Regions from separate parts of the Homo sapiens genome. Here region 2 is linked to region 1. Evidence: promoter capture Hi-C in 16 types of primary human blood cells and fetal thymus (Javierre and others, 2016). All regions are on one chromosome and are shown on one strand. The core of a region is centred on a gene start or on the middle of the fragment in contact, and the rest is flanking DNA. Distances in the headings are between cores, read along the strand shown.

Evidence for each region. Contacts are between HindIII fragments. The CHiCAGO score rates a contact against its expected background, and 5 or more counts as called.
Region 2: a contact is called between a fragment that was not itself captured here and the fragment with the promoter of SERPINB1 in region 1, in 1 of 17 cell types (activated CD4 T cells). The highest score is 5.0, in activated CD4 T cells.

What each region holds. Positions count from the first base shown.
Region 1 is chr6:2,839,710-2,843,997 of GRCh38, forward strand. SERPINB1 (serpin family B member 1) reads right to left here and starts at 2,154. Exons shown (of 7, transcript NM_030666.4): 1 at 2,103-2,154; 2 at 710-885. The coding sequence starts at 877. RefSeq lists a silencer at 2,049-2,098. The HindIII fragment of the contact is 1,424 bases long and covers 959-2,382 here.
Region 2 is chr6:3,354,715-3,359,002 of GRCh38, forward strand. All of the region lies in intron 3 of SLC22A23 (solute carrier family 22 member 23), which reads right to left. Among named protein-coding and RNA genes, the nearest start is that of PSMG4, 98 kb to the left of the region's middle. RefSeq lists an enhancer at 1,429-2,319. The HindIII fragment of the contact is 903 bases long and covers 1,931-2,833 here.

The sequences.
Region 1 (4,288 bases), core at 904-3,403:
CTCTTCTCAGAATTAAAGAGTACCAAGCACAGAAGTCCTCTCCATGTCCATTATGGACAAGAAGGAAGGCTGGGCATGAGAGTGACCTGTCACATCGCCAAGGGCTGGGTCCCGCCCCTGAAGCTGCGGGTCTCCCCCTCACCTCCCCTGCAGGGCGTGCTATGCCACAGCCCACTGAGCCATGCGCAGCACCCTGGGACTACAGAACCACAGGGTCACTTTTTCTCTTTTCCTTGCAAAAAAGCAATGCCACTATCTCCACTATAATGCATTCCCTATGTCTTATTCCTCTCATTATGCTTGAAAGTAGTGTTATATAACAGGCAATATTTATGAGTTGCATATCATCATATGCAAAGCAAAAACTGGAAGATGCTAGCTCAGGAGGATGTAGTATGCCTTTCAGGAAAGCTGTCAGATTCATCCACTGGAACAGAAGCCTCGCCCTGCAGGGATTTTTGTCAGCTTTGCTCACTGCTGTCTCCTCAGCAATACGAAAAACAGTTCCTGGTACGTGGTAGGTACTTAGGAAAAACCTGATGATGAATGGAAGCCTGCATACAAGTGTGACTTTTCTGAAAGTCTGATCTCATAAAAATACAGTTCTGAAAACACAAGGTAAGAGCTCAAAGGCACAACCTTTCCATGCAGACTGTCCATTCGTAGGGAGATGGGAGGAAAGCAGACCCTTTTTTTTGTTTCTGCTGACCTTGGACAGCTGTGCTGCCGTGTTACCTCTGGTCCCCAGAAAAACCATGGCCATAGCAGATGAAATGCTGAAGGGAGAGATGAAGATGTTTCCAGCCGGATTGTTCTCACTCAACGCCAGGAACAGGTCCAAGGCGAAGCGGGTGTTTGCTGAGCTCAGCTGCTCCATGGTGAAAACTGCAACACAGAACAGGGTCCTCATGGTGCCCACTGCCCACGCCAGCAGATTAGGCAGCACTATTTCTCCAGAAGCTTCCTCAATTTCTGCCAACCGCCCTGAGGCATCCTGGATCTTGTACTTTCTCCCCGCTTTTTTATTCCAGCAGGGCAAGAACACTTTCCCAGGCCCACAAATGTGGGACCATTCTGGCCAAGGACTCAGCAGTTATAGGGGATTTTAGGGCACCCAGGGTGCCCTAAAGGGCTCTGACCTTGCAGACAGGTGAGTCTGGGGGTGGGGCGGGGGTAAGGCAGGCCCCAGCTACCCCAGCTTTAGTGGGGTGGGAGGGCCCACCCAGCCCTGGGTCTTCCCAACCTATGTGTGGGAGCGCACGTGCTTCTGAGCCTTTGATTCAAGTCTCTGATTCATTGGGCAATGAATCCATTGCCTACCTTCACCTGAACTAAGAGCCTTCTATCAGAGACTCAGCTACCTACTATGCATTAAAACTCCAGCAAAGGTATCACTGTAATTATTATAATAATATAATTCTTCCTTATTTTTGAGGTTCAAAAGGTATGAGGTCCAGTGCCCACAGTCTCAGAGCCGGTGTAGGATGTGCCAGTTTGGAAACCCACCACAGTCCAGGGTCTGGCCGTGCAGCGTCCCATCCGCCACCCACTAGCCCATCTCGATCTCCACTCTCAGAGCCCTGATTTCCCCCGAGGACAGGCAAAGAAGAACCGTGCTGGCTGCTCGGCATGTAAGCACAAAGCTGATTTCTCCTTGTTGTGAAATCGTCTCTAGAATCGCACGGGGTTCCTCCTCTCTCTCCCTGCAGCTGCAGATAGGAGCCGCGGCCTGGCCCTGGGCTGCCTGGAAACCGTCACAAACAGCTCTGGGAGGAAGGGAATTCAGGGAGAAGGGACAACATTCTGATCTCAGGTTTCAGTCTTGCCTTCCGCCTGCATCTGTCGTCCTCCCTCCCTCCCTCCCTCGCGGGCTGGCCCGGCCTGTACCCAGGCGGGGGCGGGGGATCAGAGGTCGTCTGTCTCCGTCGGGGCGCCCGGAAGGGATGGGGGCGCGAAGCTGGCGGGGAGGGCGAGCGCAGGGAGCTGCGGGTCTGAGGGGCCTGAGCCTGGGGGGTGGGGGGTGCCGGGCTGGAAGCTGAGCGAGGGAGCCTGGCCTCTCCCCGCGCCCGCCCCCGCGCCACCGCTCCGAGGCCCGGCCTTACCCGACAGGCCGCCGAGGCACGCTCCGGGCTCCGAGCTGGGTGCGAGGTCAGGAAGGAGGCACCGAGGGCCGCTGCTCTTATAGCAGGCGGAAGCGTCACCCGGGCCAGCAGCCGCGGGCGGGGCGGCGGCCCTTCCCGGTGACTGCGTAGGAGTCCGAGCTCCCGAGGTCGCCTAAGTGCAAGCAGAAGTGAGCGTGGCTTCCGGGCAGCGCCCTCCTCAGGGGCGCGGCTTCTTTCTCAGTTCAAAGCCTTTCCCCGAATCTCTGGCAAGGACCTGAAAAGCTTTTTCTTACTAAGGTGTGAATGACTGAGACGACATATTGTGACACCTCTTAGAGGGCAAATGACTCCCTTTGAGTCCCATCTATATTGGGAGCTTTCTTTGAGAGAAGGAAGCAAATTTGGGGATCTTGCACAGGGAAAAAGAGGGGCCCCCAGAATCAGATGAAACAGAACCAGTTCCAAACACCTGCTCTCTGTTTCCAAGATGACAGCTTGCTGCTGCGTCCTCAATGGTGGAAAGTGGAAGGGCAAAAGGGGCCAAATCTCATGTGAAGTCTCTCGTATAAGGGGCCAATCCCATTCATGAGGAAGGTGCCCTCATAATCCAGTCACCTCCTAAAGGCACCACCTGTTAGTATTGCATTGAGGATTGTTTCAGCATGAATTTTGCAGGGAACACAGACATTCAAAGCATAGCATTCTGCCCCTGCCCTCCAAATTCATACCCCTCTCACATGCAAAATGCATGCATTGTATCCCAGTGGCCTCCAAAGTTCCAGTATCAACTTTAAAATGTAAGTCCAAAGTCTCACCTAAATATCTTCTAAATTAGAAAGGCATAAGATTCAAAGTACAATTCATCCTAAGTGAAATTCCCCTCCAGCTATGAGCCCGTGAAATCAAATAGGTTACAGGCCTTCAAAATACAGTGATGAGACAGGCATAGGACGTACATTCCCATTCCCAAAGGGAGAAGCAGGCAAGAAGAAAGGAGTATCTGGTCCCAAGTAAGTCCAAACCCAACAAGGCAAACAGCATTAAATCTTGGGGCTTCAGAATAATCTTCTTTGATGCTGTGTCCCCCATTCCGAGCACAGGGGGGTGGAGACTGGGTCCCCTAGTGTCCAGGGGATCCACTCCCATGGATTTGCCAGGTGCAACCCATGCAGCAGCTCTCACAGGTTGAGGTCTAGGCTCTCCCAGGATAGACTTGCATGCTGGTGGCTGGACAGTTCTGGGTTCTCAGGGACAGCCCTGTTCCCACAGCTCCACTAGATATTACTCTATTTGGGGCTCTCTGCAGTGGCCCCAATCCCACTGCTCCACTAAACATTGCCCTAGTGAGGGTTTTCTGCAGCAGCCTCACCTCAGTGACAATTCTCAGACTGGGCCCCCAGGGTCCCCAACACATCCTTCAAAATCTAGGTGGAGGTGGCTGTGTCTCCACAGTTCATGCACTCTGTGCACCTGCAGAGTTAGCATCACGTGGACTCTGCCAAGGCTTACAGGAAGGGTGGCCTGACAAGGGCCTGCATAAGCCACACGTGGGATGGTGGCCAAAGAGTGCTGCACCAGAATGTGGGGGGTGGGGGGGCAGAGACTTGAGGCAGCCCTAGGCAGCAAGCCCCAAGGTTCCATGGTGTCCTGAGTCCTCCCTTAAAACTATTCTGCCCTCAGGGTCCTGGCACTCTGGGACAGGGATGAGAATCCAGAACCAGTAACCTCAGAAATGCCTTTGGGTTCATTCTTCCATTGTCTTGATAAATAGCATCTGGCTTCCTTCTACACATACTCATCTCATTATCAAATGTGAACCTGGCAGCACTCTTGGTGTTCCCTCCCAAACATGCCTTTTCATTCTTTACATGGCCAGGCTGAGAATTTTCCAAAACTTTAAGCTCTGCTTCCCTCTTGATTATAAACTTCGTTTTTAATTCATTCTCTCTGCTCACATTTTACTACAAGCAGTCAAGAGAAGCCATGCTGCACTCTCAACGCTTTGCTCAGAGATTTCTTCCATCAAATATCCTAGTTTATTGCCTTTAAGTTCTGCCATTCAGAAAACACTAGGACATAGACACAATTCAGCCAAGTTCATTGCCACTGTGTAACAAGGATGACCTTTCCTCCAGTTTCCTTTTAAGATCTCATCAAAAGTGTCTTTACCATCTATACTTCTAACC
Region 2 (4,288 bases), core at 1,132-3,631, 520 kb after region 1:
ACACCATCTCTAATTTCTTACTAATTAATCAAATAGTGAATGTCTAACAAATGGGGAAGGTACTATGCTGGGCCAAGTAGCCATGTAATGGGTTTCTGAATCTCATAATTCAACATCATCTTCTTCAACTGACACTTGTCTTTCCAGGTCAATTAAGCAGGCAGCCTCATTAGTTCATGGGTAGACAACACGCAGAACAGACAAAGCAGGACCTGAGGGCCAGAGGGTGACAGTATCTAACTCTGCCCCTAAAAGCACAAGGCATTTGGACAATTTGTGCTACACTCTTTCCTTTAAACAGGCAACAGGAAAAACAATAAAAGATATTCCTACTACCGAGTTTATAAAAACACAAACAAAAAAAACCAGCGCCTCTCCACATGGCAGTATTCAAATCCTTATCTTTGGGCTCCTACCCTCTATCTGCTTGGAAACAGCTCCCTGTCTTTGTGGCCGCCACCCTCCCCAGCTAAAAAAAAAAAAGTCTCCCTCCAAATACTATCCAGTAGCTCTTCAAATAAAATGGGATGAATAGAGAGGCCTTGATAACCACCAGTTTTCTCATCTTCAAACTGGAAATCAGAAATAATATCAGTAAAGACATCGACTTATTAGGTACAGTGAGAAGCCTTTGAACTTAAAAGACGGGAGGAAGACAAGCATGCTGCTCGTGGGTTCGTCACACCCTGTTCTATGCAACAAAGCAACCCTCCCTGGGTCGAGAAAAAAAATCTCCATGATGATCTCTTAGAAATATAAATGTATTTATAGATAGATATTTTCCCTCTTACCATGTGTATAAGAGAACAGGACGTTGCTGGGCAGAGGGAAGTTATTGTGTGAAGGCCAAGGTCATAACAAGGTTACCGTTCTCATGAGTCTGGGCTAGGTCTGGGCCCTCCCGCCCCGCTCCCTGTATCAGCCCCACTCCCAGGCTCCAGAGCTAGGCCACTTGATGCCTGGTCAGTCCTTTCTGTGCCTTCCCAAATTTACTCTCAATTTCTGGCTCATCTACTATTCTCATTTGCTATTTCTTAAGTTCTGGGCCACGGGAGCCCAAGGTCTCACTCAGCCCTGCACAAACCCCAGCTCTCAAAGCCGGCGTCGCTCTCACTCATTCCCTGTCTCCGCATCGACACGGAGGAGCCACTGGATATAACGCTGAGGTATTAAAAAAAGAAGGAAGTTCAGAAAAACAAACACAGTACGACAGCATTTGTAGGAAGTTTTTTTTTAAAGGCAAAACTGTACAACGCAGTGTTCTAGATGTGGGAAAACCTAACGAAACTCATGAGGATGAAAAACAGCAAACGGGGTGGGGAGACTTGTGGACAGGGGAGGGGGAGGAGGCGGGGGGCGCGGGAGGGGGAGGAGGCGGGAGGAGGCGGGGGTGGGTGGAGGCGGGAGGGTGGGACTTATTAATGAGGCTTGTTTCCGAGTCCGGGTAGCAGATACACGTGACATCAGAAACATCTCATAATCACGAAAGAAATCGAAGCACGCGTGCTCTCTCGGGAGGGCCCTCCTTCTGCGTGCCAGCCCTTGGGATCTGGACTTCTGGCTCCTGGAAACATTCAAAAGGAAACCGGTGGGCCATGGAACCGCTGACAGGATTGGATGGTAAAACAGTGTCTTAGATCCACCCTCGGTGCCTACAAGGGTAACAGGCCACACCCCCATCTCAGAGATGGCAGCGACCTCATCCAAGGGGCAGGGGAAGCCTCAGAGGAGTGATTTTAGCAGCCTCTCACTTCCTCATTTGCCTGTGAAAATAAAGCTGACCCTAAACTTACCGGCTCTGCACTACCCTCCCGCTGGCTGCTTCATTGTCCTGGGCAAATCTTCAGCCCCAGAGACAGTAGTGTTTATTTTAGAACCAAACCCGCTGGCCAGGACACCATCCACGTGAAACATTTCTTCCTAAGCCTGAAGCTTTGTTGTAACCCTGTTGTCTTCCTCCTTATTGGCTCAGCAGTGAGATGGGCTGGCTTGAACCTCCAGGTCTTGAAACCTGCCCAAGATACCAACAACCACCTGTAATAAGGTGCAGGATCCCGCTCAAGCCCTTCAGAGCATCTGTGGATGTGTTACCTCATATGCCCTCACCAAATCCTATAAATAAGAATATCAAGTAGTATCCCCATTTCCAAGATGGGAAATGGCCCCTTCAAAGGTCAGGTCACCGACACTGTGATGCAGGTGGTGTCTCTAGGAGAGGCGCAGGCTTCTAGATCCCAACTGTCGTGGTTTGTTCTAAAGGCTGCAGCAGCCTGGACCATAAAGACAATTTTAAAGCAGTAAACCTAGCAATACAGCCTGGAAGAGAAAACCAAAACAGAGCCAAAAAAAAAAAAAAAAAAAAAAAAAAAACCCAAAACAAGGCAGGCACTGTAATGAAATGCTCACATTTACTCCAGTGCCCACATCTGCATTCCCAGAGTCTCAGAAATCCAGCAGGATTCCAATGCCATGGAAATATGTATCATTGTTTTTGCCAAACAAACTCCCTTACCTTAAGCAAAGGTCAAGTACACTGTAAAACTCCCAGTGCAAACAACCAGCTGGAGGACTTATCCCAGCCTCTGTAAAGTCTTTGCTAATAATTATCCAGACAGCTTTCCTAATTTTTATTTTTAAATGGGGTTGTGGCTCAGCAATAGTGTAAGGATTAATCGCCTTATCAATTAGCATGAGGAAAGGACTGCAAATACAAAGTAGGTGTGTTCTTCCTGGCTTTCTACCTGCTCAATTAGGCTCAGGTCTTAAATGATTTCCAAAATTGGACTACATCTACTGTGTTTACTTCATTCTAAATATCAAAAAGATATCTAAAAGCTTATCATAAAAAAATTTAGAATTTCCCTTTTTGGTTACCAGCCTAAAAGCTCCTTAGTTTAGGGACTGTGTTCTTATTCAACAAGCCATGCCCAGCTCCTGGTTCACAGAACACACTGAATAATGACAAATAATGGAAAACAGAAGGCGGCTGTGTATAATGAATGCATTTCATTCACTTATTCAGCAAGGAGGATGAGGTAGCACCATGCCAGGGGAGATGCCGAGATGAAGCCACACCACCGGCCTCAAGGGGCTCACAGTCTGATGAAGAGACACGTGCCTATAAGACACAGATGGGGTTCTGTGCTACAGGAATGCAAAGAAAGGGACGAGGCCTGGGGAAGACTTCACCAAAGAAGCAGCATTTGAATCTTCCCTTAAGGGAAAAGGAAGTAGGACTGTCCTGCCATGTGGGTGAGGGGAAGGGAAGAGGCCTGGGAGGAGAGTTTTCAGAGAGGCAACCAGCTCTTGCAAAGGCGGCCAGTGCAGAAGAGGCTAGACAGGTTAGGTTCTCAGTATCAAAGTCCCCAGGATGGAGAGAAATTGGAACCTTTAAACACTGTTGGTAGGGATGCAAAAATGGTGCAGCCATTATGGAAAACAGTATGGCAGTTCCTCAAAAAACTAAAACTAGAACTGCCATATGATCCAGTGATTCTACTTCCAGGTACTTATCCAAAAGAATTGAAATTAGGATCTCAAAGCACTTGACGTGAGCGCTCCCACGTTCACTGCAGTGTTATCCACAACAGCCAAGATATGGAAACAACGCAGAGGTCCACTGATAGGTGAAGGGACACACGAAACACAGTGAAAAATACAATAGAATATGATTCCGCTTAAGAACGAATGAAATTCTGACACGTACGACACGTGGATGAACTTGGAGGAATTATGTTAAGTGAAATAAGCCAGTCACAGAAGGACAAATACTACATGATTCCACTTACATGAGGCATGTAAAAATAGGCAAATTCAGAAAATCAAAGAGTGGGCTGATGGTTGCCGGGGGTAGAGGGAGGGAGACATGGGGAGTTGCTCGTCAACTAGCATCAGCTTTCAGGCAGGCGAGATGAATAAGCTCTGGAACTCTGCTGCACACATTGTGTCTATAGTTCACGATACTGTGCTGTACACTGAAAAAACCTGTTAAGAGGGTGGGTCTCATGTTAGATGTTCTTACCACAAATAAAATTAAAAAATAAAATAAAAAAGGCCCCAGGAGAGTTTCTGTTTCATCAACCCAAGGAAAACACCGGAAGGAGTCACAGCTCCAGTGAGGAAGAAGTGAGAAGGGATCTGCCATCGGGGGCTGGAGGGATGGTGGGAACCTTTGCCATTTCAAAGGGAAGCCCTGGCTCCCCTCGGGCACAGCATCCTGGGTGGGGTCTGCACCCCGAGCTGCCACCCATTGCATTTCCATGTCAGCGCCATGTCAGGTGCGCTGTGC